Linked DNA regions of Homo sapiens: region 1 is linked to region 2. The links are contacts of gene promoters, found by promoter capture Hi-C in blood cells and fetal thymus (Javierre and others, 2016). All regions are on one chromosome and are shown on one strand. Each heading gives the region's core, a stretch centred on a gene start or on the middle of the fragment in contact. The rest is flanking DNA. Distances are from core to core; before and after follow the strand shown.

What was found. Contacts are between HindIII fragments. The CHiCAGO score rates a contact against its expected background, and 5 or more counts as called.
Region 1: a contact is called between a fragment that was not itself captured here and the fragment with the promoter of YAF2 in region 2, in 1 of 17 cell types (monocytes). The highest score is 6.8, in monocytes.

Annotation. Positions count from the first base shown.
Region 1 is chr12:41,270,594-41,276,011 of GRCh38, forward strand. All of the region lies in intron 3 of PDZRN4 (PDZ domain containing ring finger 4), which reads left to right. Among named protein-coding and RNA genes, the nearest start is that of PDZRN4, 85 kb to the left of the region's middle. The HindIII fragment of the contact is 942 bases long and covers 1,200-2,141 here.
Region 2 is chr12:42,236,810-42,242,097 of GRCh38, forward strand. YAF2 (YY1 associated factor 2) reads right to left here and starts at 1,439. Exons shown (of 4, transcript NM_005748.6): 1 at 1,346-1,439; 2 at 790-915. The coding sequence starts at 1,371. LOC124902920 (a long non-coding RNA gene) reads left to right here and starts at 1,636. Exons shown (of 2, transcript XR_007063279.1): 1 at 1,636-1,918; 2 at 2,328-2,469. RefSeq lists silencers at 565-894, 1,015-1,084, 1,185-1,564, 1,615-1,854, 2,045-2,184 and an enhancer at 730-1,231. The HindIII fragment of the contact is 7,822 bases long and covers 115-5,288 here.

The DNA.
Region 1 (5,418 bases), core at 421-2,920, 970 kb before region 2:
TCCATCTTATCTTCACTGCAGTCAGAATTCACCATTTTAAACTAACTGATTAATCATACAATAAATGTACTTACTTTTGTAGTAACTATTTCTTGATATTTTTATATCCTAACAGGATAGAGATGCAGCCAGTTGGAAGAAATGATGCAGATTACATGCAAAATTTATTCATTCTTTTATTAATTTGTTAGTTACGTAGAAATCTCAAAATAATTATTGTGTGTATACCATCATGAGAGTGTTAAAAACTCAGTATATGTAGTGGGGAAGTAATATTTTAATGAGAAGTGCTCTTTCCTAAACTGATTTAGTGAAAAATTTGTTTAAAAATAATACAGTATAGTAAAGTTGATTATTAAAATGTCAAAACTTAATTTTTACACAATGAAATTTTATTTTCTAAATCTGAAATATAGTCTTCGTAGCATCACATATATGACTAATTCTACTTGACTTATATAATTTGCTTTTATATTATTTTTCATTTTGTGTTTTATATTATCTAAACCTCAATGTATATAAATATTCTTATCTCATCAGCTTAAAACAATATAGCTATTATTTTTTCTTGAATGACTGTATCTAGAGATTTTAAAAAAACTAATTTAATAAATCCACTCCTCCAACACAAAGCACAAAATAGAGACAGGATACATTAAATATCTTCCAAGTTTATTGTTTTATGAATAGCTGATTCTCATTACACTTAGCTACTTTCCCTTAGGTACAAAAAATATGGGTCAAGTCCTATTTTCATGGCCCTATTAAATCACAACTGCAGGTACCATTTTTAAGCATCTATAGCATTGTTTTAAAGGTATCTTTCACATGAAGGTAGTTTGAAAAGTCGTTCTTCCCTGGGTTTTGCATAATTATTTTCTCTTATTCCAAAACTCAGAATTTTTGGTCTAGTCTGTTTTAACCACCTTGAATCTTGCCAATTAAAATGCTAGCCTCCTGGCCCTAACTTCCTTTCCCTTGTTCCTAGCAAGCATCTGTTCTTCCACATTCTTGTATAGTTTAACTCAAAATGCCAATCAGTGATGATTGATCACATTTTTCACACAACAGCCTGGACCCGGATTCTGCACTCCACATGCATTTGCCGTTTTGATTAATGAACATAAATCAGCGGTGACAATTCACATTTGCAAGTGGATGGAAAGAATTATTAGAAATGCAGCACATTAGTAAGCAAAAGCTTCCCTTCATTCTATTACAATTGCATTGAAAACAAATACACTCCCCTCAGAGGACTTTGTGGTTATCATTAGGGAATATCTGAAATATGGAAATAAAACACATGCTGCCAGGCCTGTTTTCATTATTTTGATCTCATAAAAGATCTTTATATTTCAATACTGCACAGACAACAAATGATTTTGCAACATCATTTCTATGTTTATATAAGCCTCTACTATATAGAATATCTCAAAAAGCAATTCCTTTCTCTACCAAATAGAGTATTTTTTTTTTTGGAATGAAAGAATGGCAAAAAAAATTTAACTTGTTTCCTTAATTCACATAAACAATAAAAATCAAAGATTTTGTCTATGTCCATTCAATGAATTACTTACTTTTTTCCCTCCACTAATATTTACTTTAAGAACATAAAATTCATAAATAAATAACCTCTTCTGGTTTTAAAGCCAAAGTGCCAATGATATGTGGTGAATCAGCCTAAAGTCAACTGGTAAAAATATTGTTTTCTTTGGTTATGAAAATTTCTAACTCAGTTGAGACATACAGATCAGGATCTTCAAATAAAATATTCTTAAATGGAATATGTATGAAATATACTTCACAGACCAAATATATTGATCCTAAAGTGACCTGTTTGACTTATTAATTTTAAAGCATCATTACTATAATGGCCCATTTATTGTATTAAATGAGTATTAAATCTTTGCAGCTACTTAAGACTGCTTTTAAGGGTCACGGATTTAATTGCCTCAATAAATATATACCTATACTATCAGTTATTTCTAACTTCTCAGGAGGCAAAGGCACTGGTGTGTTTAGTAAGTATAATTGACTCTTTTAGTAAGAAATGGATACACTTTTAAAGCACATGTATCAAGACTGCCAGAAAAAAATTTAAAACTTTATCGGCAGTTCAAAAGTTATAAAAATATTTGCCAAGCTTGAAAAACATTTCTATCTTTATTTTATAATAACATATTTACTTAGAAAGTGCTTTGTTTTCTTTCCCCTTTGTGGCATCGAATTGTCAATTAAAGGCCTTTAGAGTGACCATGGGATGAGTTGGTTAAGTTGCTGTCCAGGTGGGAGAACAGCAAAATAGATGCTGTTGGTTGTAACTCTGAATTTCCAGAAGTCACATTGAAGTCCTAATAATCAAAATATTTAGGAGGAAATTGAATTCTGCAATCAATGAGAACTATAGTCTTGGCAGTTCCTAAAAGGCGCATTTCCTTGTTGTTTTGCTTAAGCTTGTCTGGGCTTCATTTAGTAGTCTGCTTATGTTAAATTTAAGCAATCATGGGTATGGAAAATGAATAAAGTGTTGACTATCCATTTGGATCAATTTTATTCATTCAAAAATGTACATTTTAATAAAGTAATGTTAGGCACTATGGATAGAAATATCAAAGAGGCTCAGTTTCTTCTTCCAAAGTGTTCCTAAAGAAGGAAATAGACATAGAAGGAAAGCAAGTTATAATCCAGTTTCATAAGTACAGTAATGGAAGATTGCATAAGACAGTATGCTGGCAAGCGCAAGAATGATCAAACCTGGTTGTGGAGAGTGTCATGAAAGTCATTATAACCAAATCTGAAAATGCAGTTCCCCAGACGCTTAAAGAAGAAAAATGTATTCTGAAAAGAAGAAACAGTGAATTCAGGACAGAGAATGAAACAGTATAGCGTGATAGAAACTACAAGTAGCCTTAACTGTAACTTACATATAGGGCATCTCCCAGAGATGGGGGAAGTGATAAAGGGTGAAGCTAGTAAGGAACTTGTATGCTTGGAAGTTTTGACACTACTCTATAAATGATGTAGAAACCAATAAATGAAGTGTTTCATTAAAGAAAAAGTATATTCAGTCAGAAATTAGCAATTTTAGGAATTTTTATAATACCTAAAAAATGACTGAACATAAAATCTTATTTTTAATTGATAAAATATGTTTTCAGGTTTACCTGCAAAAACTATGGTTGATTTGCAAACATGTCTTATTATAGTAGAAAATTACCAAATGTATGCTATTTATCATTAAATTTACCTTCATGGCAGCAGATGCCAAAGAACTAGTTCAGCAATTATGCCTTAATGTCATCCCATTATCATTTATCATTTTTCTTAATGCATCAAGATCTAAAGTCCTTGAATGCAAGCTTGGTCAGCAACCATAGAAATATGGGGTTCATTTTGTCTTTACTTTGTCATAAAAGGGGTCTTGCCTTCTTCTATGTGGGACATGGCATTTAAGTTAAGTTCATATAACTTTTTAAGTAAGGACATTATATATTTTTTTCATTTTGTACTGGGATAACTACCTCACCAATAAGTGGTAGAATAAATTGTAGCCACATGTCAAAAAGTAGGTCATCCTAATGAGTGTGTGTAAAGCTGGTATTTTCCTTTTGAAAATGTCAGGGTTTTTAAAAAAACAGAACAGAAATATGTTTTATTAATAACCACTCTGTGTATTGTGTAGTTAAAATCTTTGACTATATAACCTCTTTCATACCAAGCATTATTTAAAATAATAAATCTTTCAAAATTTAAATAGATATGGCACAAAGGTGCAATTTGAAGGAATATATAGAGTTGATCATTATAAATGGAAAACGCTTAAAATGCTGAGCTTGTTTCTATGTTTAGTGAACACTTCCTAGTTTAAGCTAGAGAGAAGGATTGCCTGAATTAATGAAAGTTCCGAATTAGAAAATATTTTGGAAGCAAATATAGTACCATAGATGCTCAGGGATATTAGAAGCCATTTTTAAATACCAACTAAAGTCTATGTAACATTGACATTATCTCTACCTCTTGTATCCCTAGACACTACTGAAATACCTGAATCCATGGTGGAGAGCAGATCTCCCAAGACAGCCTGCTTCTTCTTCAGATGATTCCATTAGGAAAAGTTTTCTTATATTTTGCCAAATCTATCATAGCTAGCATTCCCTGGCTCAAACTTTGCCTGGTGTGTTCATGAAGTATACACCCTTGAAATATCTGAAGACAGTTAAAGATTAATTCCCTTCCTGTTTACTGAATCACTGGACTCGCCATTAGGGAAATGTGGTAGGAAAAAAATGCTCTGAAATCAGTCAAATATTTGCAAAGTCTCCCAGTGAATTATTATAGACAGAACAATTTTGGCTGACAGTATAATTAGGTAGATTCAGGCCCAAGAGCTCATTGGTGGGTCAGTGTCGGACTAGGCACCTGATGCATCTATGTAGTCCAGATGCTACAGGGATCAGTGCTTTAGACTAAGATGCTGAACATTTTAACTCATGAATAAGCTGAGAGGCTTGACTGGCATGGGATCAAACTGATGCCAGAAGCAACTCTGGAAGGGAGAGTGGATATGCCTAACGACAGTTATCCCAGGGAACTGTGTGGCTCATTTCCTCATTTAATTAAAGTCTCTGATAAAAAGTCCGTATTTCAGATAGCCTCTGTCTTACCACCTTATAAAATTAGCATTCTTCCCCATCATAACTCTCTTACTGGCTCATTTTTCTTCATAATGCTTACTACCACTTGTTGTATATTTATTTATCAGTTTACTTGAACTAACCCACTAGAATGTAAGTCCCAATATTTTATAGTTTTCATTGCCAAAAATTCAATCTTTCAGTTCTTTCCCATTAAGTGATTTTGAGGCCAAGTTGTTGGCAGGATTTTTGCAGTGGCCTGAATAACAAACTTAGAAGAAGTGAGCTCAGTGGAGTGACAGGGGAGGCAGGAAGGAAATAGATCCTCTCTGCTCCACATCTTTACACACTGCATGCTAGGGTCTGTGCTAGGCGGTTGGTGTAATTTTTATTTATCTCCCTTAAAATTTTATAAGAGTATACTGTGGATTTTTTTAAAAAAATAATCATTTCTGAGGGATTATTACATATAAGGCTATAGATATATAGTAAGTAAAGGAGATAGGATTCAAACCCAAATATGGCCACAAGAGTAGGAAATAATTTTTAATATCTGCCTACAAAGGTTTCAGTGATGAGTATAAAGCATTTCACTTTTTAAAATAAAAATGGAGACTCATTGAATCTAAGGAAATAATTTAGAGAAAATGTACAGGCTGGATGTGAAAAATGAAGGTGATTTTGAGGGATGTGAGACTAGAGAAGACTATGATAGTACTTGTGAGTTTCGGAGTTGGGTAAATGGTTACAGGCAGAGGAAACTCCAGATTTATATGCTTTTCTA
Region 2 (5,288 bases), core at 189-2,688:
CTCGATAACTAAGTGCTGACAGATTAAGAATGCCACTGACTGAATTTCCTGGATGATTTTCTTTATTCACTTAATTCAAAGTCATTTTTTAAAAGACAGAGTTATTATACTGCAAGCTTACAATAAATAAAGTCTGAAAATAGGCAGAGATCTTTTCATCTCATTTGTCTAAGAGACTGCCATTTAATCAAACTAAAGATATAAAGGTACTTTCAGTAAAAATCTGTTCCTGTGACTGGGCTCATCTCCAACTACTTATTTATAAAATATTAGAGTACTGGAATAAAAACACTAAATAAAACCTTGATCTGACCCTTCCAGAAGTACATGTAGAAAAATAAGTTTTAATATATTGTGTATTCTGCAATCAGATACTTTTCTTTCTTTAGGAACGAAATTAAATTACATCCTTTGCTCCTAAAGAGATTTTATGGGTTTTCCTTGATCCCCACACACTAACACAACAATGCAGCCAACATTTTTATACCCAGAATGGGGAGAGGGGCATTACACCCAGCGATACGAATTAAATCGCAGTAGCTAATGCCTCCCTTAAATAATTTATTCTCTCTTGGCAGCAAAAAACGTTACAGCCTCTTCAATTACCCCTCACCGCAAACCATCGCCTGGGTTGCGATCAATGTGACCCAGTTCCTATCGCCACAGCCACCTCCGTCTGCCTCCTCCCGCCGGGTCCGCCAGTGTCATGGGAGGGGGCGGCAGCCGCAAGGGCGTCCTCTGGTCGCCACCCCGCCGGCCGGCGGCGCGAGGGGCAGGCCCGGGACTCACCGGGTGGAGGTGCCCTTCCGCACATCGCACATCATGCACTTGAAGGCCTCGGCGCTGTTCCGGAAGGTGCAGACGCTACAGTCCCAGTAACCCTCATCCGAGGACGGCTTCGGCTGCCGCTTCGGCCTGCAGGACACAACCCGGACACGACGCGGCGCGGGGTCACCAGCAGGCCGCGCCCGGTGCCCGGGCCCCGCGGCCGCCCCCGCCCCGCCCCCCGCCCCAATTCTGCGACCCCCGCCCCGCGGGCCCTCGGCGCGCCGCGCTCCGGCTGAGGGGGAAGGGAGTCAGGAAGAGGCAGGGCGCGAGCGCGGCCGCAGTCGCCGCCGCCACAGCCGCTCTGACACCCGGGCGGCCGCTCCGGTCGCCGCCGCCATCGCGGCTCCATTGTGGGGCGGCCGGCGCCGGCCCCCTCAAGCGGCAGCACTCGCACACCAGCGGCGCTGCCCCCGTGCTCGCCCCGGTGCCCGGGCGGCTAGCGAGGCGGCCACCCGAAGCCCTGCACGAGGGCCCTGCCGCCCGCACAGTCCGGGCCCCGGGGCCCGGGCGCTGTTACCTGGTGGGGCTCTTCTTGTCTCCCATGGCTTGGCTATCACCGCACGCCGAGAGTCGCCGCCGCGACCGCTCTGTTTGTCAATAAGGAGGATAATAAGCCGGGCGGAAGCGGGCGGGGGAGGAGGGAGGGAGGGGGCGGGGAAGGCCGCACCGCCGCGCTCGGGAGCCGCCGCCGGATCCCACGCAGCCTCCAGCTGTCGGGGAAACTCCTGCCTGGGCGCACGTGACCCTCGCCGGCCAACCAGCAGCCGCGCCGGAGACTTCAAACGCGGCCAGCGCGGCCCAGCACCCGCGGCGAGTTAGCCGGCGGGCGGTGCGGGGGTGGCCGCGGTGGCCGCGGCTGCCTCGGGCGCCGGCGCCGCCTCTCCGCGCTGTTCCCCCGTTGCCCCCTTGGTACCCCCGGCTGCCGGGGACTGCCTCGCGCTCCAGAGCCCCTCTGAGGAGGAAAACGTCTGTCCCACCGACTGGCAGGGGATGCTCCGTCATCCCGTGCGAAGCCTGGTCCAAGGTAGGGCCGGCCGGCGTTCGGAGGCCTGTCCAGGTCTGGACAGAAGTGCCAGCCCGGGATCTCCAGGTAGAACGACTTTCCTGGCCTCCGCTGTCCTTAGCTACCCAGCCCCCGCCTGCAGTATACCGGGGGGAAGGCGGGAACCAACACGCAGCGCCATTGCTACATGCCTTAAAGCACTGTCTGGTTTATGCACACAGATGCTCTAACAAGTAGGGATTGTCAACCCTAACTTAGAGGAATTGAAATCAAGACTCAAGAGAGATTAGGTGACTTCCTCTAGGCTATATAATTAGAAAATGACAAAGCCAAGAGTCTAACTCTGTTTTAATTCCAAACGCGCCCTTTTGGCCTCTCAGGCCTCTGCAGTAGCTGCTTTTGAAAGAAACCCCTATATACTCATAAGTCCTTTTTAAATATAAGGAGTTTGCATGTCCCCTCAACGCTGTCTGCTAACAAAAGAACACCTTCCCAGGTCTCTACGTCAACATACTAAAGGTCCTCATACTCCAGACTCCAGCAACAGCCATCTAACTGGTCTCCGAAGCTCCACTTCTACCTCCCCAATGTATTCAGTAATCCACAACCAGATTAATAATAAAATGCTGTTAATACTATGCCACCACTCTGATAAAGAACCACTAACGACTTGCCCACACTCCTTAGCCTGGCATTCAAAGGCTTCACACATTTTCCCTACCTCTGCCTCCCTCTCCCATAAGGAAAGCTGCCTCCTGACAAAGAGTGCAGATGAAATTCATTCCCTTACCAGAACCCTTCCTTCATGCACATGGGTTACTTCTGCATAAAGTATATCCCTCTTTAACTGTGCTGTTTCTGTCCATCTTTCTAGGTTTACATCAAGTCCGAATTCATGTAAAATAATTTTATAGCTAAACTACATAGGAAATAATACAGTCAGAAGCCCAGGATTCTCAGCCTGCTTCTCCTGTTTCTTAGCTGATAGACCTTGGAAGTATTGCTTAATTTCTGTAATTCTCAACGTTTTCATATTCTGAATTGCATCTATATGAGATTGTTGTGCGATTAATAATAACATTTTTTGGCCGGTTGCGGTCGCTCACGCATGTAATCCCAGCACTTTGGGAGGCCGAGGCGGGCGGATCACCTGAGGTCAGGAGTTCACAAGACCAGCCTGGCCAACGTGGCGAAACCCCATCTCTATTAAAAAATACAAAAATTAGCCAGCTGTGGTGGCGGGCGCCTGTAATCTCAGCTACTCGGGAGGCTGAGGTAGGAGAATCGCTGGAATCCGAGAGTGAGAGGTTGCTGTGAGCCGAGATCGTGCCACTGCACTCGAGCTTGGGCGACAGAGCGAGACTCCGCCTCTAAGTAAATAAATAAATAACATTTTTTTGAGCACTATGTGCCAGGCACTTTGTAAATCCCTGCGCATAGATGCATATTTTAAAGGACTCAAAGTACTATGCACATGGCCTCATCGACTGCAGATGCTCTTCGATTTAGAAAGGGGATACTTCCCGATAAATCCACCTTAAATAGAAAATATTGTAAATTGAAAATGCATTTGGTACACCGATAAATCCATCGTAAAGTAGAAAAATCGTAAGTCGAGCCATTGTAAATCCGTAGTCTAGCCCTTCTTTTTAAAGACAAGGCAATTAGGGCCCAGGTTAAATGGTTTTTCTTTGATGAGCAGGCCAGGGTTAGAGCTCAGGTATCCTATTGGTCTTTCACCGCATCTTCTTTCTGATTAACCAAATCACTCCATTTACATAGCAGTCTCTAAACTCGTTGTACCATCTGTACTTTTTGCAAATGTAGCTTCTCATGATTCAGACCCAAATTCGGAAACCAGGAACCATGAGGAGTATGATTGAGGCACGTATACAAGAGAACCAGATTTAAGGCCTAGTCTTTAACCTCTCAGTAATGCAGTGGGTAAACTCAGCTAAGTTTTTTTCATATGTAAAATAAAGGAGTTAAAACTATTATCACAACTAAGGTCCCTTGCAAGTCTAAGGCATTGTGATGTTTTTAAATGCCTCAACTGGATGGATCCTCAAATAGACTGACAAGAACTGCTCTACTTGCAAAAGTGATGGCAACAATGTATTTTTAAATAAAAAGGAAACTAAATCAAGCACTCTAAAAATCCCCCATGCTGCAAATCACCATTTCACTAGATTGTAACCTCCCTCACTAAAAAGTAAGCCGCACCTCTGAATCATGAACAAAAAGCACAATAACTTTTGTTGCCTTTATTGCTGCATCTCCAGCCCCTAGAACAGTGTGACACATAGTGGGCACTCAATAAATATTCTGAGAATAAATACATCCACTTATAGTCAGGTTAGCGCGCGCCTGTATTCCCAGCTACTTGGGAGGCTGAGGCAGGAAGATAACTTGGGCCCCGGAGTTCCAGACCAGCCTGAGCAACAAAGCCAAGACCCTGTTTCTAAACTAAATAATCAATACATTCACTTGTGTTACAATTGTTGAATGAGATTTTTTTCTTTCATATTGGGATTTACAAACTGTTAGGCATATTGCATGCAGTGGATGGTCAATAAATGCCAGAATTAACATTTATCCTTCAAAATGAACTTTACAACTCCACACATCCTTGTCGATGAACCAGGAACCTAGTTTTTGTGGAGCACAGAATCATATGCCCTTGCACTATACCAACTGCCTCCCATTTATGGGTGTTTCTCTTAAAAAAAAATCTCTGCCCCTACTAGGCTTACGTGGAGACAGTAGTACAGGAGGTACTCCTCCCATTTCACCACAAAAAGTCACACCTTTCCTAAAGTGTTTACTAGCTGTAAGAGTGGCTGTTGTGGAGAAAACAGATCTTTTTATTACTAAAGTGGCCCAGGTTCTTACCCAATCAGGTGTCTTTTCAATACAGTAACAGAGTTCAGTACTTTAGAAATGTTAATTCATTACGGTCACTTGTAAAGTGACAAACACTAACGATCGTTTTAACAATTTAACAAGTGTTGAAGTTTTCTGATGATTTACTTTTTTTGTTGTTTGTTTGTTTTTTTGTGTGTTTGTTTGTTTTTTTGTTTTTGTGTGTGTGTGTGAGAGAGTCTCACTCTAGTGCCTGGGCTGTAGTACAGTGGTGTGATCATAGGTCACTAAAGCCTTGAACTCCTGGGCTCCAGCGATTCTCCTGCCTCAGCCTCCTGAAGTGTTGGGATTCCAGGCATGAGCCACTGTGCCTGGCCTTACCTTAATGTTTAAAAGGTAAATGAGGGCAGACCAGTGGCTCATGCCTGTAATCCCAATACTTTGGGAGGCCGAGGTGGGCAGATATCTTGAGCTCAGGAGTTCAACAATAGCCTGGGCCATATGGGGAAACCCTGTCTCTACAAAAAATACAAAAATTAGCCGGGTGTGGTGGCATGCACCTGTAGTCCCAGCTACTTGGGAGGCTGAGGTGGGA